Linked DNA regions of Homo sapiens: all the other regions are linked to region 1. The links are contacts of gene promoters, found by promoter capture Hi-C in blood cells and fetal thymus (Javierre and others, 2016). All regions are on one chromosome and are shown on one strand. Each heading gives the region's core, a stretch centred on a gene start or on the middle of the fragment in contact. The rest is flanking DNA. Distances are from core to core; before and after follow the strand shown.

What was found. The method cuts DNA at HindIII sites, captures the fragments that hold promoters and counts their contacts. A CHiCAGO score of 5 or more calls a contact.
Region 2: a contact is called between a fragment that was not itself captured here and the fragment with the promoter of METTL3 in region 1, in 4 of 17 cell types (non-activated CD4 T cells, naive CD4 T cells, naive CD8 T cells and 1 more). The highest score is 8.5, in non-activated CD4 T cells.
Region 3: a fragment that was not itself captured here is called in contact with the fragment with the promoter of METTL3 in region 1 in 1 of 17 cell types (total B cells); the score reaches 5.1 in total B cells.
Region 4: a contact is called between a fragment that was not itself captured here and the fragment with the promoter of METTL3 in region 1, in 1 of 17 cell types (monocytes). The highest score is 7.9, in monocytes.
Region 5: the fragment with the promoter of PIP4P1 here is called in contact with the fragment with the promoter of METTL3 in region 1 in 3 of 17 cell types (monocytes, erythroblasts and non-activated CD4 T cells); the score reaches 8.1 in monocytes.

What each region holds. Positions count from the first base shown.
Region 1 is chr14:21,509,455-21,514,108 of GRCh38, forward strand. It overlaps METTL3 (methyltransferase 3, N6-adenosine-methyltransferase complex catalytic subunit), which reads right to left and starts at 1,886. Exons shown (of 11, transcript NM_019852.5): 1 at 1,670-1,886. The coding sequence starts at 1,769. RefSeq lists an enhancer at 1,929-2,168. The HindIII fragment of the contact is 13,792 bases long and covers 1-4,654 here.
Region 2 is chr14:22,758,022-22,762,675 of GRCh38, forward strand. All of the region lies in intron 1 of OXA1L-DT (OXA1L divergent transcript), which reads right to left. Among named protein-coding and RNA genes, the nearest start is that of OXA1L-DT, 6.2 kb to the right of the region's middle. The HindIII fragment of the contact is 252 bases long and covers 2,419-2,670 here.
Region 3 is chr14:20,291,965-20,296,618 of GRCh38, forward strand. It overlaps TTC5 (tetratricopeptide repeat domain 5), which reads right to left. Exons shown (of 10, transcript NM_138376.3): 6 at 4,426-4,482; 7 at 3,744-3,890; 8 at 3,348-3,562; 9 at 19-163. Among named protein-coding and RNA genes, the nearest start is that of TTC5, 12 kb to the right of the region's middle. RefSeq lists an enhancer at 3,092-4,291. The HindIII fragment of the contact is 523 bases long and covers 1,979-2,501 here.
Region 4 is chr14:20,346,644-20,351,297 of GRCh38, forward strand. PARP2 (poly(ADP-ribose) polymerase 2) reads left to right here. Exons shown (of 16, transcript NM_001042618.2): 4 at 220-270; 5 at 3,883-3,979; 6 at 4,404-4,479. Among named protein-coding and RNA genes, the nearest start is that of PARP2, 5.3 kb to the left of the region's middle. The HindIII fragment of the contact is 2,313 bases long and covers 1,348-3,660 here.
Region 5 is chr14:20,458,871-20,463,524 of GRCh38, forward strand. PIP4P1 (phosphatidylinositol-4,5-bisphosphate 4-phosphatase 1) reads right to left here and starts at 2,564. Exons shown (of 7, transcript NM_144568.4): 1 at 2,314-2,564; 2 at 1,785-1,975; 3 at 1,322-1,428; 4 at 758-863; 5 at 518-570; 6 at 336-426. The coding sequence starts at 2,455. RefSeq lists enhancers at 1,884-2,850, 2,779-2,848, 2,851-3,816, 3,149-3,228 and silencers at 2,019-2,188, 2,249-2,658. The HindIII fragment of the contact is 6,669 bases long and covers 1-3,130 here.

The sequences.
Region 1 (4,654 bases), core at 636-3,135:
TTAAATAGGCTGGATATGGTGGCTCTCACCTGTAATTCAAACACTTTGGGAGGCTTAGGCAAGAGGACAGCTTGATGCCAGGTGTTCAAGACAAATTTGGGCAACATAATGAGACCATATCTCTATTAAAAAGTTAAAAATTAGCCAGGCATGGTGGCATGCACCTGTAGTCCTAGCTACTCAGGAGGATGAGCCGGGAGGACTGCTACACTCCAGCCTGGGCAACGGTGAGAGACGCTATCTCAAAAACAAAAGCAAAAAAAGTCGTTGGCATCATTTATGCACATTTTTAAAAAGTTTCAAAACAGGAAACCAAAGAATAGGGGAAAAAACATAACAAAACAAAAAATTGTATCTATAAATAAATCAATGAAGTTTCTAGAGCAAGGGAAAAAAAATTCTCCCTCTTAGGTAATTCAGGAACTACTCTGAGACTTGACTACTAATTATTGCCTGACCATATGACTTGCACTTCTTACTCCACTATCCTCCCCTCTTACCTCTTTAATTATCTAGGTCCTATATAGCCATAAAGGCCAAATTCAAGTGCCAATTCCACTATGATGGTTTTGATGGCTTCACTACCTACACCAGCTCTTGTTACTTCTCTTCATTGTACAGACTGTAGATTCATTCATTTGGTTTCGTACATATATCTTATCATATTCCTCACTTTTTGTAAGCGTCTCCCCTTGAATCCTATGCTTTTTAAACTTCTTGAGGACAGGGGCAATTTCTTCCTTATTTTTGTCTAATTAGACCCATGAACACTGTAGATACTCAAGAAAGGTAATTAATTAGGTGGGAGGATCCTGCCAGTGCATCTTCTATTTCTAGGGGCCAGAATACGAGCACATGAACCTAACATGATCTAGACAAGATTTAGAGATGCAGTTGAAGATACTGACAAATATTGGAACAATCTACCACAAAGGTGATACTGAGTCACTATTTTTGCAGAGCTTTGTTACTAGTTTGCCTTAAATAATTCAGAGTTTGTCCTGAGGGTAGGGAGTGGATAACAGTGAATTTAATCTTTTAAATTTCCTTCAAGTTTTATGATCGTGACACGGGGGCAACAGGAGAAGAGAAAAAGTTTGGAAACCAAACACAAATGTTTTCAGATTCCTGCTAGGTATGTAAATGGCTAAGTCAATGCCGGTAGGGGTACTCATTCAGAAACACCCAGTGCCACTCTGTACGGGCCACTAAATTGGGCACTGCGGATATAAAGGTTCATTCCTCGCTTACTGTACCCACAGCTGCCAAGAAATGACCACTACAAAACAGTCGTTATAACTGAGGGAACAAAGCGCCAAAGCAGCAACAAAAAGGGGTTCTTGCTGCTTCGCGGGATAGGGGGCTGAGCAGCCTCACAAAGGCGACGTCCTCGCAGTCTGAAGAGGAGTGGGCAAGGCGGACGAGGGTGGGGCTCAAGCGTCCGTCCGGTAAAAGTGAGCTGGAAGAACCGAGGCCCAGCGTGAGGAGGAACCGCGAACTACTTGCAGAAGGGCGAACGTCTGCTGCTGAAGGTGGAGAGGGAGTACCAATGTACGAGGCTTTATAGAAATGGCCGTTTGGTAAAGGGCAGTGACTCTGGAGCTTTTTCTCTAGGGATCCCGCCCGTCCTCCCCGGTTGAGCCTCGGCCCCAACAGCCCAGTGCCTCACCCAAGTGCCCCGAGTCCTGCTTCCGCCTCCGCTGCAGCCTCTCCCGCAGAGAGTCCAGCTGCTTCTTGTGGGCCTGGATAGAGCTCCACGTGTCCGACATCCTAGTCTCCCAGCCCTGACACCTCTCGAATAAGGCGCGGCGGACTAGCACCTCCCAGCACTCGCTCCAGGATATAGCCAATTCTCACGCGGACACCCCGAAGGCTAACCGGAAAATGACCCCTGGAGCTGAGCAAGACAGAAAAGTCATTTCCGGTGTCGCGCTTTCTTGGAAGCTATAAAGAGCCACGTTAGGTGTTGGCAGAGCGGCCGGTATAGTCCTCATACCCGCTCTCTCATGCTTCCGGACACAGTGAGGCTGTGGTTGCCATGTTGGTGACTGGCAGAGCGGCCATGTTGCTTATAGACGCGCATGCGGCCATGTTGAATATTCGGAGAGGAGTCCTGAGAGTTGACTTGTGTTAAAGTAGCACTCGTAGAGAGCAACACCATATAGTACAGTTTTGGGGGTTTTTTTCTTTTTTTTTTTTTTGAGACGGAGTTTCACTCTGTCGCCCTGGCTGGAGTGCAATGGCGCGATCTCGGCTCACAGCAACCTCCACCTCCCGGGTTCAAGTGATTATCCTGCCGCAGCCTCCCGAGTAGCTGGTATTACAGGCGCCCGCCACCACGCCCGGCAGATTTTTTGTATTTTTAGTAGAGACGGGGTTTCACTGTGTTGGCCAGGCCAGTCTCGAACTCCTCACCTCGTGATCCGCCCTCCTTGGCCTCCCAAAGTGCTAGGATTACAGGCGTGAGCCACCACACCCGGCCATAGTACAGATTTTTAAGATGAAGGATCACTAGTTCCTTTTGACAGTTTGGTACTAACATACCTTTTCCACTGAAGGTGGTGTTGGTTTGTTTCCATGCGTTCATTTACAAAAAAATAAAAAACACAACGGTGGTCCCCAATCTGAGGTGAGGAGGGGGCGGTGGTGGGTGCGGGCATGCTTCTTTGTGTTGACGAGGCGTGGGGAAGTGGGGAGGGCTGATGAAGGAAAAATCCGAGAGGTCTTCAAATACGTGATCTCTCTCTTAGGCTAAATTTACAAAGTACGTGTAATCTATTAAAATCGGGTTCCGACACTAAGAGGGCTTTGAGGTCCTGGTTGCGTTGTGTTTTTTGTTATGAGAGCTACCTGCATGAGTGTGTTCAGTTTGTGAAATGTAATTGAGCTGAACATTTTGGTGTGCACTTTTCTGTATGTGTAGTAAACTTAAATACAAGGTTGGTGGTGGTGGTTTTTCCTACAATCCTTTCTTTCTTTCTTTTTTTGACACATTTTCTTTTTTTTTTTTTTTTGAGATGGAGTCTCACTCACTCTGTCACCCAGGCTGGAGTGCAATGGCGTGGTCTCAGCTCACTGCAACCTCCGCCTCCTGGGTTCAAGCGATTCTCCTGCCTCAGCCTCCCGAATAGCTGGGATTACAGGCGCGTGCCACCACACCTGGCTAATTTTTTTTATTTTTAGTAGAGACAGGGTTTCACTATGTTGGCCAGGCTGGTCTCGAACTCCTGACCTCGTGATCTGCCCCTACGATCTGCCCCCCTGCCTCAGCCTCCCAAAGTGCTGGGATTACAGGCGTGAGCCACCGAGCCTGGCCTGACACAGAGTTTCATTCTTACTGCCCAGGCTGGTGTGCAGTGGTGTGATCTCAGCTCACTGCAACCTCCACCTCCTGGATTCTAGCTGCCTCAGCCTACCTAGTAGCAGGTATTACAGGGACCTGCCACCATGCCCAGTTAATTTTGTATTTTTAATAGAGATGGGGTTTCACCATGTTGGCCAGGCTGGTCTTGAACTCCTGACCTTAGCTCATCAGCCTGCCTTGGCTTTCCAACGTGCTGGGGTTACAGGCATGAGCCACCGGCTTGGCCTTTTGTTTGTTTGTTTGTTTTGTTTTTTTAATGGAGCTCCCTGAATGGAAACATTTCGGGAATCACTGACTTATCCAATGTCTACATGATGCCATACGCTGTTGTCCAAAAAATACAAAAAATAGTTTGACTGGCATGGCTCCTGTTTTCAAAGAGTTTATAATCTGGTCAAGGAGCTGTGAGCCAGTTTATTAATACTGAACCATCTTCACAGCATGAGGTAGCATGGGCATAGACTTTTTAAAAAACAAAAACAAAACAAAACAAAAAAACAGGAAAAAAAAAAACGTGATTTCAAAGAAGAGGAGGACTCCAAGTTTAATGACCCAGGAAGGCATTGGAAAGAAGCTGGAATCAAGGTTCAGGCTTAAAATGACCACTAAGGTTTCAGTAGGTGAAGGTATAGGAGGGAAATCCAGGTCTGGAATATGATAAAGGCAAAGGTCTAGACTAGAGGTAGGAAAGCGTGATGTGTGTTATGCCAATCTGGATTAGTTCGCCAGAACATAAAGATTTATATTTGGGAATATTGGGAGAAATTTTAGGTTTCCAAATTTGAGGCCAGATTGTAGAAGGTACATGGTACCTGAGTAAAGACTTGGCAATTTATTCAGAATACAATAGGAAACACTTAGGGTTTGTAAATAGGAATGTTTCAAAATTGATTTGCTGTTCTAGATAAATTGAGGTGAGGAGGAAGGAGATTTTGGAGAGGACAAAGATGGTTATTAGTCCATTGTAACTAAGTGTCTGATGAGAAGAACTGTAACTAAAAGCTGGTTATGAACAGTAATGAAAAGGAAGGGGTGAATATGAAGGGAGCTATTGAAAGATGTATGTGTATTGTAATATGACTTTTATCCATTCAGTAAGTATTGAGTGTTTACTATGTGTTAGATACTATGGAGATTTAGTAGTGATGAAAATACTCATTTCCATCTCATTTTCTGAACTTAATTTACTTTTAGGGAATTTACACTATCTATTGGGATGTGTAACTTTGTTTTTTTGTTTTTGTTTTATTGAGACAAGCCTCACTCTCACTGCTGGAGGGCAGTGGTGCA
Region 2 (4,654 bases), core at 1,295-3,794, 1.2 Mb after region 1:
CAACAGACACATGAAAAAATGCTCATCATCACTGGCCATCAGAGAAATGCAAATCAAAACCACAGTGAGATACCATCTCACATCAGTCAGAATGGCAATTATTAAAAAGTCAGGAAACAACAGGTGCTGGAGAGGATGTGGAGAAATAGGAACACTTACACTGTTGGTGGGACTGTAAACTAGTTCAACCATTGTGGAAGACAGTGTGGCGATTCCTCAGGGATCTAGAACTAGAAATACCATTTGACCCAGCCACCCCATTACTGGGTATATACCCAAAGGATTATAAATCATGATACTATAAAGACACATGCACACGTATGTTTATTGCGGCACTATTCACAATAGCAAAGACTTGGAACCAACCTAAATGTCCATTGATGATAGACTGGATTAAGAAAACGTAGCACATATATACCATGGAATACTATGCAGCCATAAAAAAGGATGAGTTCATGTCCTTTGTAGTGACACGGATGAAGCTGGAAACCATCATTCTGAGCAAACTATCACAAGGACAGAAAACTGAACACCGCGTGTTCTCACTCATAGGTGGGAATTGAACAATGAGAACACTTGGACACAGGGCAGGGAACATCACACACCGGGGCCTGTCGTGGGGTGGGGGGATGGGGGAAGGATACCATTAGGAGAAATACCCAATGTAAATGATGAGTTAACGGGTGCAGCAAACCAACACGGCACATGTATACATATGTAACAAACCTGCATGTTATGCACGTGTACCCTAGAACGTAAAGTATAATAATAAAAAAAAAGAACAAAAAAAGAATATTAGGCCCCATGAGGGATAAATATTGACTTATGTGTATCTCTATTGCCTAGAATAGTACCAGATATATAATGGGCACTCGATAAATATTTTGTAGAATAAATAAATGTTGAATGATGAATGACCTTTTACATGGTACTGTAGCAGGAATTATTTAATTATAACGTAGCTAGTTCCACTTCTTAAATAGCAAATCCCTAGAGACTACATCTTTTAAAAGATTGCCTGATTAAGCCCAAACAGCATTCTGCATAGGGAGAAATCATCCGTGCATAATTAATGACTGAAAATTACACACAGGTCTTTAACACGGAGACGTGATATTACAAACAATGAAAACACAGAGTCCCTCAAAAAAAAAAACAGTGTATTTTTGCAAAAGGCAATATTGTTTTCCTTTATTGTTCATTCTGCCTGGAATGCCATGCTATTTTCTTTATTTTTATCTTTCTTTCTCTGTATCTATTAATTAAGGCCAAGATTAAAAATGGTTTCCTCCATGAAGCCATCCCTGATGTATTCTTAGACATAATCTCTCTCATCAGAACTACCCAAGCACTTTATTCATTTATCTCATAAGGCACCAAAGACTAAATGTCCATACCAGGTGACAAGGCAAAGTAATTATCCAGAGAATAAACTTTTTAAAATTTTTCACTCAAAATATATGAATTAATCGAGACAAATGTACTATTTTGACAGGGAAGTGTCCTCTGTAAACTGTTTTTTTACTTATGAATAAAATTTATTTATGTATAACTTACATAAAATGTGCCCATTTAAATGAATAGTTTGCTGAATTTTGATAAATGTATTCACCTACTTAACCACCACAATAATCAAAATATAGATTATTTCTTTTATTTTTTTGTTTTTGTTTTTTGAGACGGAGTCTTGCTCTTGTCGCCCCAGCTGGAGTGCAAGGCACGATCTCAGCTCACTGCAACCTCTGCCTCCTGGGTTCAAGAAATTCTCCTGCCTCAGCCTCCCAAGTAGCTGGGATTACAGGCGCCAGCCATTGTGCCTAGCTAATTTTTGTATTTTTAGTAGAGATGGGGTTTCACCATGTTAGCCAGGCTGCTCTCAAACTCCTGACCTTGTGATCCTCCTGCCTCAGCCTCTCAAAGTGCTGGATTACAGGTGTGAGCCACCGGCCCTAAATTTTTTTTAGAGATGAGATCTCACTATGTTGCTCAGGCTAGTCTTGAACTCCTGATCTTTTTTTCTTTTTTTCTTTTGAGATTAAGTTTCACTCCTGTTGCCCAGGCTGGAGTGCTCACTGTAACCTCCATCTCCCGGGTTCAAGCGATTCTCCTGCCTCAGCCTCCCGAGTAGCTGGGATTACATGCATGTGCCACCATGCCCAGCTAATTTTGTATTTTTGGTAGAGACGGGGTTTCTCCATGTTGGTCAGGCTGGTCTTGAACTCCCGACCTCCGGTGATCCGCCCACCTCAGCCTCCCAAAGTGCTGGGATTACAGGTGTGAGCCACCATGCCTGGCCTATTCTCTTAACTTTCTATTCCTTTTCTTACACTTACTTAAGGTCCAATGTGCTCTTTTCTTCTATCTTATTAAAATGGATGCTCATGTGATATCAGCAAAATGGTGGACGACAAAGCTCCAAGCTTTCATTATCCAACAGAAACTTCATAAAACAACCAGAAATGAGCTGAACTAACCTGTAAGAGCTCCAAAAAACAGTTAAAGGTTTACAGTAACCAAGTGAATGCCCACCTTCCAAATGTTAAGAAAGTTTTGTCGTGTCTTTATTTGCCCTCGTCCCCTCCTCCTCCCTGATGCGGCAGTGCTCTTAGTCTGGAAGAGGCAGCAGCCTAATTCCAAGTTCCCTCCCTTAAATGGAAGGGAGAAGAGCAAAGCTTTTTGCAAATTATTGTGCGCATATGGGGGTTACCTAAAGGACTGGCCTCAGGTCTCAGAAAAGCGGTAGTCATTGCTCATGAAAGCTGCAAGGAGACTACAGACCCACTGACATGTGGAGTAAAAGACTATGGGTGGATACATACAGTAGACCATGTAAGGCCCCAGGAGAAACCGGACTGAGACTCTTTAGGAAATAAGACATTCAAAAGCAGCCATGTATATGGGGAAATTGGGAAGTTACACATGCCCAGGTAAGACACTTGGTCAGAAAAGCCCTGAAAAGACCTTAAGCCTTCACCTCAGCTGATCCCTAGGCTCAAAGCAAGCCTTGCTCAGTGCTGAAGAACTGTACCAGTATAGAGCCAATCTGCAAAGACTAGGGGAGTTAGCTGTTTTTTCAAATGTCTACTTTTCAACAAAAACTACAAAAATTACAAGGCATACAAAGAAACAGGAAAACATGGCACATTCAAAGGAGTAAAATTAATTGGCAGAAACCATTTCTGAGGACATCCAGACATTTGACTTACCAAAGACTTTAAAACAATTGTCTTAAATTTGCTCAAAGAGCTAAAAGAAAACATGGGCAAAAAACTAAAGGAAATCAGGAAAATGGTATATTAACAAAATTAGAAAACCAAGAAAGGGACAAAAATTGTAAAAAGGAGCTAAACAGAAATTCTATAGCTGAAAGACACAATAACTGAAATGAAAATTTACTAGAGGAGCTCAAACACAGAAGAATCAGTGAACTTGAAAATAAGACAATTGAAATTTTCAAATCTGAGGAGCATAAAGAAAAATAAATAAAGAAAAGTGGATAGGCCAAGTGAGGTGGCTCATGCCTGTAATCTCAGCACTTTGGGAGGTCAAGGCGGGTGGATCACTTGAGGTCAGGAGTTCGAAAACAGCCTGGCCAACACAGCAAAACCTTATCTCTGCCAAAAATACAAAAATTAGCTGGACATGGTGATGAGTGCCTGTAATCCCAACTACTCAGAAGGCTGAGGCAGGAAAATTGCTTGAACCTGGGAGGCAGAGGTTGCAGTGAGCCAAGATTGTGTCACTGCACTCTAGCCTGGGCAACAGAGTGAGGCTCTGTCTCAAAAAAAGAAAAAAAGAAAAGTGGACAGAGACCAAGGAACTTGTGGAATACCATTAAGTAGACCAACATATGCATTACGATTCCCAAAGAGGGGTTAGAGAAAGGGGCAAAAAGATTATTTGAAGAAATGGCTGCAAACTTCCCAAATTTGATGAAAGGCACTAATCTACAAATCCAAGAATCTCAATAAACTCCAAGTAAAATAAATCCAAAGAGACTCACACTGAGACACATTATAATCAAACTGTTGAAAGACAGAGAATCTTGACAGCAGCAAGAGAGAAGCAACTCATAATGTACAAGTGATCCTCAATAACACTATCAGCTGAAGTCCAATCACTCTGAGGGAAAAGAAAAAAAAAAAGACTACTGGCCATTTTCTCAGCAGAAACCCTGGATGCCAGAACGCAGTGGGATAATACATTTAAAGTGCTTTAAAAAAAAAAAAAACTGTCAGGACAGGCATGCTGGCTCACACCTATAACCCCCAACACTTTGGGACACACCAAGGTAGCTGTGTAGATCACTGGAGCCCAGGAGTTTGAGACCAGCCTGGGCAACATGGCAAAACTTTATCTCTACAAAAAAACCCACAAAAATTAGTTGCACCTGTAGTCTCAGCTACTCAGGAGCCTGAGGCAGGAAGATCACTTGAACCTGGGAGATCAAGGCTACAGTGAGCCATGATCACACCACTGCACTCCAGTCTGGGCAACGGAGAGAGATCTTGTCTCTTAAAAAAAAAATTATGCGAAATCTACTCTGCCTGTGTTCTATAAAGGGAACAACAAAGCCTGGATGACAGCATATCTGTTTACCCTACAGTTTGCTGAATATGTTAAGCTCATTATTGATACCTACCCCTCAGAAAAA
Region 3 (4,654 bases), core at 990-3,489, 1.2 Mb before region 1:
ATCCTAGCCATTGCTCACCTTTCCTTTGTGCTGAATTCGGTGAAGCCGCAGGTTGGGCTCAGGAATGGCTACAGAGTCTCCAATGAGCACTCCCCAGCTCTGCACTATATTGTACACCATCACTGCATAGCAAGGTCCATCTGAATCTACCAGGCCAAATGTACTACCAAGTAAAGACAGATTAGGAGAGAGGAAAACAAAAAGGTATGTGGGTAGGAAAGAAGAGCAGAAACAGTGGTTTAAAAATACTAGCAAAATACTGGACTTAAAGTCAGTGACAGGTAATTAAAATAAAATATAAAATTTAACTTAATTAAACTTTAAAAATAAAATACTAACAAAATAAACAAATGCTTTTTCTCAGTTACTCAGAAAACCTATGAGAGGTACCATCTTCCACTTTATATATCTGAGTCTTCATTTTTCTGAAACTCATCAGTCACTTTGCTAAGAACTTAGGACAAAGCACACTGAAGCCATTCAACAAATATTAATGATGAACTAGACCAACATGTTACAGTTGTAACATTATTCCTGGTCTATCAATTTAACTATCATACTCTTAACCAAAGCCTCTAACCATCACTGTCTGTGTAGTTTAACTCCACAAACTTTCACTGAATATTACATATGTGCCAAGCATTGTGTTTAGCAATAAGATACCAATCCAGCTATGAATGACCTATAGTCTAGCAGGAGTCAGACAATGAAGTCATCACTTACAGCACAGTGTGATGGGTGCTAGAATAGCTTTTCCCTTGTGCTGAATTCAATGAAGCCACAGATTGGGCTGTGGGAGCCCAGAGGACAAATATCTAAATCAAAATTGGAAAGCAGGGAAGATTTCCTGGAAGAGGTGACGCTCAAAGTGAATCTTAAAGGGTAAAAAACCAGCTGGGTTAAAAGAGAAAAATTAATCCTCGGTAAAAATGTTAAAAACCTCTGAGGGGATAGGAACAGAGATTTTGACTTGGAGGCAACATCAGGGAACTTCCCAGAATGGTGGTAATGATCTCTATTTGGGTTATACAGATATTTTCCATTTGTTAAAAGCTATGAAATGTACGCTTAAAATTGTACATTTCATTGTATGTAAATTTTACATAAAAAGAAAAAATTGAAACAAATACTGAACTCAGTTAATGACTGCATGCTAAAGTATGTAAAGTATATTGATCTCTGCAATTTACTCTGATAGCAGGATAAACAGACTGATATGTAATAAGCTAAGTAAAATAAAATATTAATGGTAGAATATAAGTGGATGAGAACACAAATGTTCAATGTAAAACTCTTTCAACTTAGCTATATGTTTGAAAATTTTTATACAAAATGTTGGGGGCAGAAGAGGATGTTAGCTATGTCAAGAAGAAGCTAGAGATTATCCAGGCAGAGTAACTGTATGTAAGACACAGAGGCATGAAAACAGCTGTTCTAAAACCAACAAAATTGTTCCATGGTTGAAACAAAAGGCACTGGTGGGAAAGAGACAAAAGATAATAGAAAGAGAAGCAGGGAGCAAATCATGAAGGACTTTGTATGCTAACCTAAGTAGTTCACACTTTATCCCAAAAGCTACATATAGTACCAGTAAGGGATCTTAAATAAGAAGTAGCAATGGTCAGATTTCCATCTAAGAAACATTTCTCTGGCAGCACTGTGGAACACTGGAGGAAACCAGAGAATCAGGGAGACCTATCTGGAGAAGTGATAAGGGGGTGAATTAAGGTGGTAAACACAGAGAAGTCAAGTCTATAGGACAAAAAAGGCAAATCTTTTTGGAGAATGGAGAAGCCTATTCTTCCAAAAGTCTTAATCAAGTGACTGAGAGGTGATACCATTCATTCACAAGGAATCCAGGGAGGAGAAGCAGGTTTACAGAGAAAGATTTAGGTGAGTAATACTGAAATACTGAGTTAGAGATTTCTTATTGGAACCCAGAAGCAGATGGTTATAGGAATCCAACACTTGGAAATGAAGCTTGGGCTGGAGATATATCTGTAAGCATATAGGAGGCTGCCAAAGCCTTGGGTTTATATGACATCACAGGGCAAGATGATCTATAGACAGGATGGAGAAGAATCACACTCATGCCATCACGTGACATGCCTGAATTCACAGGAAATATTGCAATCAAGCAAAGCACTCTCCTGATGAATCCAGTCAAAGCCTCAGAATCCTTCTACACAGTATGTCAGGCAACCACTGACAAGTGATCAAAGTTGGCAACTATAGGCCATCCTGATATAAAGAGAAAAAAGGAAAAAAACAAAAATAGAGTCCTGGGAACCTAAGATTTAAAAGTTAGGCAGAAAAAGAGAAACCAAGGAGTGGCAAAATATCTATTTGTTCTCAAGGTCCTCCAAAACCTACCTTTGTCTATATCCCTTTCTAATTCTTCTCAGCTCTAGGATTTGCTCTAGTAAACTAAACTGTTCTCAACTATCTTTTTGCCCTTCAACTCGTCAAATATACAAACCCCTAGAAAATGCCATGGAGAAAGCTTGGGCATATAATGGGAATTGTGAATATTTCTGTTTAGATGAACAGAAAGGATGTGAAAAGCAATAGTGAGAGATAAGTCAGAATGTTTTGGAACCATGCAATAGAAGTTGCTGGATCCAGTGCCTAGAAAGACAATGGTGATCCTAGGAAAATAACAATTTCAGTAGAAAAGAGAAAGGGGAAACCGGTCAACCAGGGATTAGGAAGTGAGTGAAGGACCAAGGAGTGGTGGCATTCACTAAACCGTAACTTTTCAAGATCCAAAAATTTTCTAAACAAATATTCTTAATTCATTTCCTCTGCTGCTAGAAGCACCTGCACCTGGGTCCTTTACATTTCTTTTTTCTCACTCCCTATGACACATATATTACACACTCAATAAATATTTGTTGAATGACATCTAAGACAATCTCCCAACCAGACTTTAAATTATAACTCAAAGCTCACTTTTCAGAACTAAGTATACCTAAGTACAAACAGGACTAAGAAATTTGTCCTCCTTCAACTTCTATGATCATGAAAATGCAAAGGGACAGAAGAATTTTGAGGTTTCTGTCTTATAAAAAAATATGTCCTGCCAAATTTCAACTATGGATATAGGAATCCACATAGCACCAAACTCAGGGATACAAAATGGGCAGTGACAGAATCTACAAAAGCCTCTGATCAAAAGATGGTTAAACATCACCCAGACAATATCTGCCCACGGGATAGTCACAGAAGGAAATCAGAAGTCACAAATCTGTGACCACTGACAATCTCCTCAACTGCCAGGGAAAGAACAGGAAGTGAGAGCAATTAGTTCAAAAGGGTAAAATGGGGGAAATCCAAGAGAAACTCACAAGGGGACTTTCTCCTCTGTGGTGAGGCTAAATACCACCTTTCCCAGGATGACGGCACCGCTGTTCACCCCAGGCTGAAGCGTACTCAGTGGCTTGAGCTCCAGGGTCACTTTCTGCCCAGAGGCTGACTGATAGTGCCCATCACTGCAAGGGCCTAGATGGGCTGGGCGCAAGCTTCCCAGCATGCTCTGCAGCTTTTTGGTCTTCACCTTTCCCTGCAAAGAAGGGGAAATAGGTAAGAAGCTGGAAACTAGTCGCCTTCCTTGAGATTCTAATCCTTCCCTCCCACCCACTTCTATAGGGTCTCTACCTCGTAAACCTATTTATTCTTATTTTATTGACCCACGACAAAATAAAAAAAAAAAAAGTGGAATTCAGCCCTTCAGACATTTTTACCTTACTCTCAAGGAGGCTGGTTAATCTATCCAGGAATTCCAGAAGTTGTTGCTCTCGTTGCCGGGGCTCTGGCCAGGCAGGGTCCAGGGCTGCAGCCCGAGAGAAGCCCTCCAGGGCCTCCCCATAACTCTCTTCATATTTATGCAACTGTACAAGAAGTGTATCCCAATTATAAGTATATCCAGACAAACTATCCCGAGGGAATGGCACCATGGGCTAGGAATCTAGAGAAATAAACTGTTTTCCTTCCTGGTTATTTTCCTGTGCTGCAACAAACAGCCTGAAGAGCTGGTAACACCTTACATCCTTCTTCCTAGCCAAGATGATCACAACCCCAAAGATGGAATCATTTCAAAGAAGCTAATTTCCAAACTCTAAAATAGTTAAGTTGTATATATTGGCTCACTTGACCTTTATATTTACTTAACATTTCAGAAGTCTTCTAAAAGATCCCCCCATTCTCTACCTATTCTTCCACCTCCACAGCCCCTTCTCCTTTCCCTCCAGTGACTACACCAGATACTGAAGCCAAACCGAGCTAGCTATTTATAGAAATAGCATGGCTTTCCTCTCGCAGTCTGTACCCAATCTTGTCCCTATGCAAACTCAGTTATCCTCACAAGCTAAGACATAGGTGTCTTATTTATTTGACCCTCAGATGACTACACCCCAAAGGTCTTACCGTCGCCCTGTTCAGATGAAGGTCAGGATTGCTAGAAGCTTTTCTGTCAACTTTCTCCTATAATGGGATGAAAAGATTATCAGTGGATCCTGTCTCAATGTTAAGGACTGACATGCCCAACATGTCCTACGCCTCCTCTTTCTAGAGAAATGGAAGTTTCTTCCTTGCCAAAATGGTATTTATACCACAGAAGCAGTTACCGTATAACAGTGTGGATATCTTAGTCCCA
Region 4 (4,654 bases), core at 1,254-3,753, 1.2 Mb before region 1:
TCTTTTGTATAGTTAAAAAAAAGGAAGCATGTTTTCATTTATAGTAAGGTTACACCCAGGTTACTGGTAGAACATAGGTTTGCAATTCTTTCCTTGGGAGATGAATGTTGATGTTGCTGTAGAATGATGACTTGAGCCATAAGAAAATTTAGAGCCTCATTTAGGATGTCAGGGCTGAACCTATACTAATGTTGATTTTTTCTCTCTCTCCCTTTCTAGGCTCATGTGTATTGTGAAGGAAATGATGTCTATGATGTCATGCTAAATCAGGTAAGAGGCAAGAAGAGGTGGCACCATTATATTTATGAGACCATCTTCTTGATAATTATTGATGATAGCATCACAGTGTTCAGATCTTTAAAGTCCCTTTTTTTTTTTTTTTTAAATTTTGTTTTTTCTTTTTGAAATGGAGTCTCACTTCATCTCTCAGGCTGGAATACAGTGGCACAATCTCGGCTTACTGTAACCTCTGCCTCCCAGGTTCAAGCAATTCTCCTGCCTCAGCCTCCCAAGTAGCTGGGGTTACAGGCGTGCACCACCACTCCCAGCTAATTTTTTGTATTTTTAGTAGAGACAAGGTTTCGCCACGTTAGCCAGGGTCTGGTCTCGAACTCGTGACTTCAAGTGATCCACCCACCTCAGCCTCCCAAAATGCTGGGATTACCAGGTGTAAGCCACCACGCCTTGCCTAAAGTCCTTCATATGTGTGTGTGTATATATATATATATATATATATATATATATATATATATATATTTTTTTTTTTTTTTTTTTTTTTTTTTTTTTTTTTGAGACAGAGTCTTGCTCTGTCACCCAGGCTGGAATGCAGTGGTGCAATCTCGGCTCACTGCAATCTCTGCCTCCTGGGTTCAAGCAATTCTCCAGCCTCAGCCTCCCAAGTAGCTGGGACTACAGGTGCAGTGTCTGGCTAATTTTTTGGTATTTTTAGTAGAGATGGGGTTTCACCATGTTGGCCAGGCTGGTCTTGAACCCCTGACCTCAGGTGATCCACCCACCTCACCCTCCCAAAGTGTTGGTATTACAGGCATGAGCCACTGCGCCCGGCAAGTCCTTTATATTAATATTAGCCATTAGTGGTTAAACACCTGAGTACTCAGCCCTAGCACACTCTTATCAGATAGCAGAGTCCTCTGTGAGAAGATTTTTTTTTGCAAATTTCATATCATTTATTGAAATTGTTAACTCTCTGTTCATATCCTTTTGCACATTTTTTTTTTTTTTTTAAACAGACAGGATCTTGTTCTGTCACCCAGGCTGGAGTGCAGTTTGTACAGTCATAGCCCACTGCAACCTTGAACTTCTGGGCTCCAGCAATCCTCCCACCTAAGCTTCCTGAGTAGCTCGGACTTCAGGCGCATGCCACAAAGCCTGACTAATTTTTAAATTTTTTATGGAGATGAGAATCTCGCTATGTTGGATAGGTGGTCTTGAATTCTTGGCCTCAAATGATCCTCCTGCCTTGTCCTCATGAGGCACTGGGATTACAGGGATGAGCCACTGGGACAAGCTGTTTTGCACATTTTCTAAAGTTATTGGTCCTTTTCTTACTGGTTTCGAGGAACTTTATATAATATGGAGAATAGCCTTTTGTCTGTAATACAAACCACTTGTGTTTTCCAGATTTGTCATTTACCTTTTGGTTTTCCTTATAGTACACTTTTTGCCCATATTGAAGTTTTAAATTTTTTCTGTAGTTAAATTTATTAATTTTTCCTTTTTAAAAAATTTTGGGTTTTTTTTTTTTTAATTTTAGAGACAGTGTCTTGCTATGTTGCTCAGGCTGGCCTTGAACTTGTGACCTCGTGTGATCCTCCAACCTCAGCCTCCCAAGTAGCTGGGACTACAGGCATCTGCCCCCAAGCTCAGCTTTCTTTTTAATCAACCTTTTTCTCTTGTTTACCTTTGTGGTTTTGAGTAGATAATACATTTGCCTCATTAATATATTTCCTGGATATGACTTCATGTTTGAATTTATTGATCCAACATATATAATTTTAACAACCAATTAGTATTTATTTCTTACTATTTCTTCTACTTAAAATACCACGAGCAGATAGAAAATACCTTAAGGTTAGCCAGGTGCAGTGGCTCACGCCTGTAATCCCAGCACTTTGGGAGGCTGAGGCGGGCGGATCACCTGAGGTCGGGAGTTCAAGACCAGCCTGACCAATGTGGAGAAATCCCATCTCTACTAAAAATACAAAATTAGCCAGGTGTGGTGGCATATGACTGTAATCCCAGCTACTCGGGAGGTTGAGGCACGAGAATTGCTTGAACCTGGGAGACGGAGTTTGTGGTGAGCCGAGATCGTACCATTGTACTCCAGCCCTGGGCAACAAGAGCAAAACTCCTTCTCAAAAAAAAAAAGAAAAGAAGGAAAATACCTTAAGGCAGCCAGGTGTGGTGGCTCATGCCTGTCATCCTAGCACTTTCGGAGGCCAAGGCTGGAGAATCACTTCAGGTGTGAGTTCAAGATCAGCCTGGGCAACATGGTGAAACCTTGTCTCTACAAAAAAATACAAAAACACCGGGCATGGGCCAGCTACTTTGGAGGCTGAGGTGGGAGGATTGCTTGAGCCTGGGAGGTTGAGGCTACAGTGAGCTGTGATTGAGCCATTGCACTCCAGCCTGGGTGACAGAGGGAGACCCTATCTCAAAAAAATAAAAAATAAAAACCATAAAAACATTTACAAAAAAATTTTTTAAAGGAAAAGAAAATATCAAGCTGGGCATGGTGGCTTATGCCTAAAATCCCAGCACTTTGGGAGGCCAAGGCGGGCAGATCACTTGAGTTAGGGGTTCAAGACCAGCCTTGCCAACATGTTGAAACTCCATGTCTACTAAAAATACAAAAAAAAATTAGTCTGGCATGGTGGCGTGTGCCTGTAATCCCAGCTACTAGGGAGGCTGAGGCACAAGAAATTGCTTGAACCTAGGACACAGAGGTGGCAATGAGCGGAGGTTGCACCACTGCACTCCAGCCTGGGCGACAGAGCAAGACTCTGTCTCAAAAAAAGAAAATATCTTAGGCTCCTTTTTGTTCTAACATCTAATGACCTTTTTTTTTTCACCAGTGGGCTAAGGTCGTACAATGGCTTTAGAATGTGAGCAAGCAGGAGATAGAGGTAGGAAGGGGCAGCATGCTTAACAAAAAAGAATGCCTCCATATCCAGGGCTCGGCCATACAACACCAGCTGCTATGCCTTATCATGGACTTCTCTCTCTTCACTCTGAGTGATTTACTTACAGATACCTCTTTTTAGATACTGGCCATATTCTCTCTCAGTATCTCCAAGTCAGGTCAGGTTAGGTATGGGACGGATGTGGCAGTGGTTTTGCGTATCCCTTGTCCCCTCCCATTATTGCCCTGCTCTCAGCTCATTGTCAAATTTCTGCAGCTGACAAACAAAAGCTGTGAGTAGAACTGTCAAGGAGTAAGTCATTTAACAGTTGAGCATAACAGGTTTAGACCTTTGGAGCATCCAAATTGTTTTCATTTGGGAAATAATTATTGGGAGTGGATTGGGAGCTGGAAAACACATATAGCTTAGAAAATATCTAAATAGGGAGCTGAGGCAGGAAAAAACTGGAGGAGCCATTCAATGTAGGATATTTGAGGTTGGATAGAGGGTTTTAGGAAGCTTCTAGGCTCCCACTTTAATTCCTAAGAATCCAAAGTTTAATGTATAAGCCCTATTTCTTCTTTATATCTTTAATCTTACAGGAATCTAATTTTCTTGCCTGATGCTATCCTTTTCCTTATGGAAATAACTGGCACCTGTGACGAAGGATGAGTCATTGGTTTATGTGATTTCCATTTGCAAAACTCCTTTTTTTTGTTTTTGTTTTCACTCAACATAGACCAATCTCCAGTTCAACAACAACAAGTACTATCTGATTCAGCTATTAGAAGATGATGCCCAGAGGAACTTCAGTGTTTGGATGAGATGGGGCCGAGGTAATGATTTTTATTGAGATTTTATGAGTTGGCATTCAGAAAGTCAGAAGCAGCTTAGTGGGTGGCCAAAGGATTCTCTGGGTTTAAATTGGGTCAGTAGAGGCTCTGAAGTCTGGGAGAGCCTTAGGAATCAAGTTGAGCATCTTGAAATTGGGGAATGGCAGGCATCCTCCTTAGAGTTCCCACTGGAAAAACTAAGAGCAGCCCATTGAGTCTGAAAACTCTTCTATAGTTGAACTGCTAGTAGTGCTCATAGACTATGGCAGTTAGCAAGTAACTTGTATCAACATGATTAGTTCCCTAAATCCTTTCACCTTTCCCTTCTCCCTTTCCTGCCTGTTTGTCAGATGTTAAGCAGAGAGATCTTGGAGAGCTGGCCTGTTACTCTTAGGGAACTATCTTATGTGTGGCATTTCCTTTGCAGTTGGGAAAATGGGACAGCACAGCCTGGTGGCTTGTTCAGGCAATCTCAACAAGGCCAAGGAAATCTTTCAGAAGAAGTGAGTGCTGAAAAGTGACTACAAAAAAATATACCCTCCTCTTCTTAGATGTATATTCTCTAAAAAATTTTTTTTTAGACAGTTTCACTCTTGTTGCCCAGGCTGGAGTGCAATGGCATGATCTGAGCTCACTGCAACCTCCACCTCCTGGGTTTAAGTGATTCTCCTGCCTCAG
Region 5 (4,654 bases), core at 1,314-3,813, 1.0 Mb before region 1:
CCCTTAGGCGTAACATACTCATCCCATCCCACACTGTATCTCAGTTTTTCTTAATATCTGACAACTGAGCCAGGTTTGAAAAATAGCAACTCTTAAATTAAGAATTTCACTGTCCTATCCTCATCCTACAGAGAAAGGAAGGCTGTTTTTCACTCTTGTAGTAGTAATAAAGTCTGTTTGATCAGCCACTTTGCACTTTAGCTCATCCATATCTTAAAACAAAACAAACTAGTCCCCCAAGTTTCTTCCACTTTTTTTTAGGGTAGCAGTTTCCCAAATCTTAGCCTATGGAGATGAGGCTGCAGAATGAAAGAGGTTGGGGCAAGGGTACTCACGGCAAGGCCAGTGGCAGTGACTGCCAAAAGCAAGCCAAGCAAGAAGCAGCAGATACATCTCTTACGTGGGTATCTGCGCCCAATAGATGACCTGTGGGGAGGCAAATAGAAATGGATGCTTTCTATGGCCTTGTAGTTTTTACTCCATACATCAATTACCAGCTCAATCCCTAATCACTTACACTTTCCTGCAGTGAGGACAACGTGCCAAAGTGCGGTCTGTGAACTCTGTCCACTATGGAGAAAGAAAACAAAAATAATAGCACAAGCAGGGTCTCCCTCAATGAGAACCTTGGGGTGGGGATGCAGAACATGTTCCCATAGGACAGACCTTTCAGGGGTCATTACCATTACTCTAAGAAATATACTCGAAATGACTCTTAGTCTCCTTTCCCCTCCCCTTCCCAATACCCCTTCCTCACCAGAAAAGTATTCTTGCAATGTCCACAGATAACCCTGACACCCATGGGTTGGGGTTCTGGACTCAGAGGTCCGGGATGCACAGGCCCCAGGTTGATGATTCTTTTGCTATACAAAAGAAAAAGACTTGTATTTTCAAACTTGTGTTTGAAAAATTTTTAATCCTAAAAATCTTCACAGTCCCTGTTCCACATCCCCCACTCCCTGTCTATTAAGTCACTCGACTTCTCTGTACTTAAGATACTCTGTCCCCCAACTGTATACCCTCAAGAATCCTTGAGAAAGAAAGAGCACTGTTTAAACTTCAGGTCCCCAATTCCCCTCCGACCTCAGGATAACACACCCAGTCCCCAAGGCTCTCTATTCTCCGAAACGACATCATTTCATCTCAATATTTTTATTGAGAAACGAGAAAGACAGCTATAACATTCCTGAGGCACATGCTTCAAAGCCTTTTCTCCTAAATAAACACTAGGCTCTCTCACCTTTACATTCTCTGTATACGCTCATCCTTTTTTGACTTTCCAGTTCCCCACTTAGGCCCTTCCCCACCTTATGCCTCTTACCAGTAGGGCCGAGGGCATGCAATCCGTTGGGATGTCACTTTGCAGATAAGGAGACAGTTACAGGGGCATCGAACATATTTTTTCCCTGGGGGTGCATTCTTGATTGGCTAGAGAATAATAGGGTCATCAGCAAGCAAACCTCTAATCCCAATCCCCTCCACTTCCCTCCAAAAACACTTTATGAGATCAGAAAAATAAGGTGCTAACCAGGAAGGAGAAATAAAAGAAAGACTATATCATGAGATTTGCAAATAGGAACTAGGCTAGGTGTAAAAGTGAGAGAAAGTGAACATTAGCTTTGGTGAGTGGCTTCTGGGGAAATGGCTGTGTGAGACACCTGGAACTGAAACCTGGGTATCATCAAAAGCACTTGGCTAATAGCCGGAAGGTCAGGGTCTAGAACCAAGACATCAGAAAGAGGATCCAGGAAACAGGGCCCATTTCATAGATATGTGTAACTCACGGTGGCTTCATTGCAGACACCACATTTGACTACATGCTGATGCATCTTGCCTTCCACGTTGATGAGAGATTGGCAGACTCGGCAGGTGATCATAGGGGCACTCCCACTGTCCGGGCTAGTTAAGGGTGAATAGGGGGGTGGGTCCTCCCCAGGCAACACGGCTGGATGCCCCTCGGGAAACGGGGGAAATGCTGGAGAGGAAGCAAATAGAAGGGCTGGGATCACTTACACCCCCACTGATGCTCCACGGTGGTAGGGAAGTCCTTCTGATCTTCAACCCTCTGACCAAGCTCGGAGGGCTTCTCATAATTGGCACTTCTATCAGGTTGCTCAGAACCCCCTTCCGTCCCTAGGCTGTGGTCGCGATTACGGAGGGAAGGAAGCCTCGCCCAGTCACAGGTGCAGCAGTCCCGCACCTGGCGACTGGGACCCGCCTCCGCCCTCGGTCCCGCCCCCTCCCCGGCTTTCAGAGTACCCCGGGGAGCACCTCGGACCCGCCCCGGCTTACCCTGGGGCGGGGCATGTTTACCGGCTCCGTACGGTGGTGCGGAGGGGGTCAGGCCTCCCCCGGGCCCAGCCCCACTCCCGCCGGGCCCCACTAAACCGTTGCCGCCCGCGCCACCGTCGATGGGCTCAGACAGCAGCGGGGAACGCTCTCCATCTGCCGCCATGGCCGCCACCGCCGCCTCCCGCTCAGGTCGGCGATCCGGCTCCCTTCGCCTCTGCCGTCGCCGCAGCCACCGCCACCGCCGCCACCGCCACCGCCGCTACCGGGTCCCCAGGGCGCCTGCGCGCCGCGCGCCCAGCTCACTCCGCAACCAGTGGCCTGCCCCGCCCCGTTCCGTCTAGCAGCACGTGATAGGCTATCCCCGCCCGGGTCATGCTATTATTCGCGTAGATAAACCAATTCCTGGTCCTGTGAAGGCAGCTCTCCTTTTCCATTGGGGAGCGACGCACAAACGTCAACTGTCACATGACCTGCCAGATGCTGCTGGGCTTGCAAAACCTGCACGTGACTAGAGGTTCTGCAAGCTATTGGGAGCGACGCCCATCGCGCTACCTCCAGACCAGGAGGTAGGGCTAGGCTGCGTCTGCTCAACTGGTCACGTGTTTCTGGAAGCTGCACGGTCCCTGTTGCTCTGCTCCTCATTGGTTCAAAGACACCACTAAAACACTTTTCTCCGGCTTTGCGTTGTAGCTGGTTTCCTATTGGCTGGTGACTTTACTTCTTTCGTCCTGTGATCCTAGCGGCGCAACTGCATTGGCCCGAACTTAGCGCCAGAACATGGGGGGCGTGGCTTATGCATTTTAAAGGAGGCTGGGCGGGTGCAATAAAGGAGTGCGGAAGCTTGGGATCTTCTGAGCGGGGAGAAAATGGACGGTGGGGAACAGTAGACAAAGTTAGCTGTTCTACTCAAAGAAGTACCTTTAAAAAGTCAGAGTAATGAGGTACCAGAAGGAAATGGATTAAAAAGTTAAGATTATCACTCCAGCCTTTGTCGCTAGAGTCACTTTCAGGACAGGACACAAGACTGGGTTTTCCTGGAAGCTGTCCTTACAGAGCCCCGTCTTTCCCCATTGCTGATCAAATTGTTAAATTATCTTTTCATTAGTGTCTCCACTACTAGAAGATTTCATCGTTTTACTAAAAAAAAAAAAAAAAAAATTCAATAGAGATGGGGTCTTGCCTATGCTGGACTCAAACTCCTGAGTTTGATCTCCTGCCTAAGCCTTCCCAGTAGCTGGGACTACAGGGACAAGCCACCGTGCCTTTACTCAGTTTTATGACCACCAACCTTTAACATACGCACAAGTTTGTAGATTGGATTAATCAAATACAAGGTTATTTTCGTCACCTTATTTGACAGATGGGACAGTCTTTAGGCCTGTCTCAACTTTGCTTCCAGCAAAGGGGCAGTGCCTCCTCCCCTACCTGAAGTCTCGTGTGGTCTTTATGGGCGCCTGAACCACACCTGGATTTTTTCCCAAGTCATAGCCCAAACTGGGACTGCTTTAAATATGGGAAGCAACAAGGAATTGATAAAAACAATAAACCCCGAGGAGGTCCATTATCAGTTTGGCTAGCAGACTCTCCACTAAGAAAGGAAGTGCATCAAAGAAAGTACAGCCAGCCCCAAATATGTAATAACAAAGGAACTGCAGATGTCCCAGCACTTGGCTGCTACAGGGGCTGGAGACTTCACCTAGGTCCTGATTTTTTTAGACAGGGTTTTCTCAGGCCAACTTCTACTTGGAAGCTAGTAACCTTCGACCAGTTAGATAAGAGCCCCTAACAGACACTTAAAGAACTAAGGAAGCTCCAGATACAAAATAGGGAAGAGGTTGTAGCTCCATAGAGGGAGGCCAGTCTGCTGCTTTTTCTGCTGTTTGTGGCACACAGATGCTCAAGCATTGTCTGGGGTTGGAGTAGGATCCATTATTTGCGCCCTAGTTACACATATATTCCAAAAACTGTCCTAAAAATATTTTTTAAATATCTACACTTTGTGAAAGACACTCCTTAAAAAAGCTTACACTCTGGGTAGGGAGACAGAATAGTGTAAACATTGACAGTATAACATATCAGGTCAGGAGTGGTGGCTCATGCCTGTAATCCCGGTGTTTTGGGAGGCTGAGGTGGAGGATTGCTTGAGCCCAGGAGTTCAAGGTTACAATGAGCCATGATCTAAACCTGGGCAACAGAGCAAGATCGTGTCTCAAAAAAAAAAAAAAAAAAAAGAAAATCAGCACTAGTATTTTATTACATGGAAAAATATCAATACTAGAAATTCATGATACAGCACATGCTTCATAATAAAAGAATTAAACAATGTAATTCAAGTTCAAGAAAAGAAGAGATCACTTCTAGC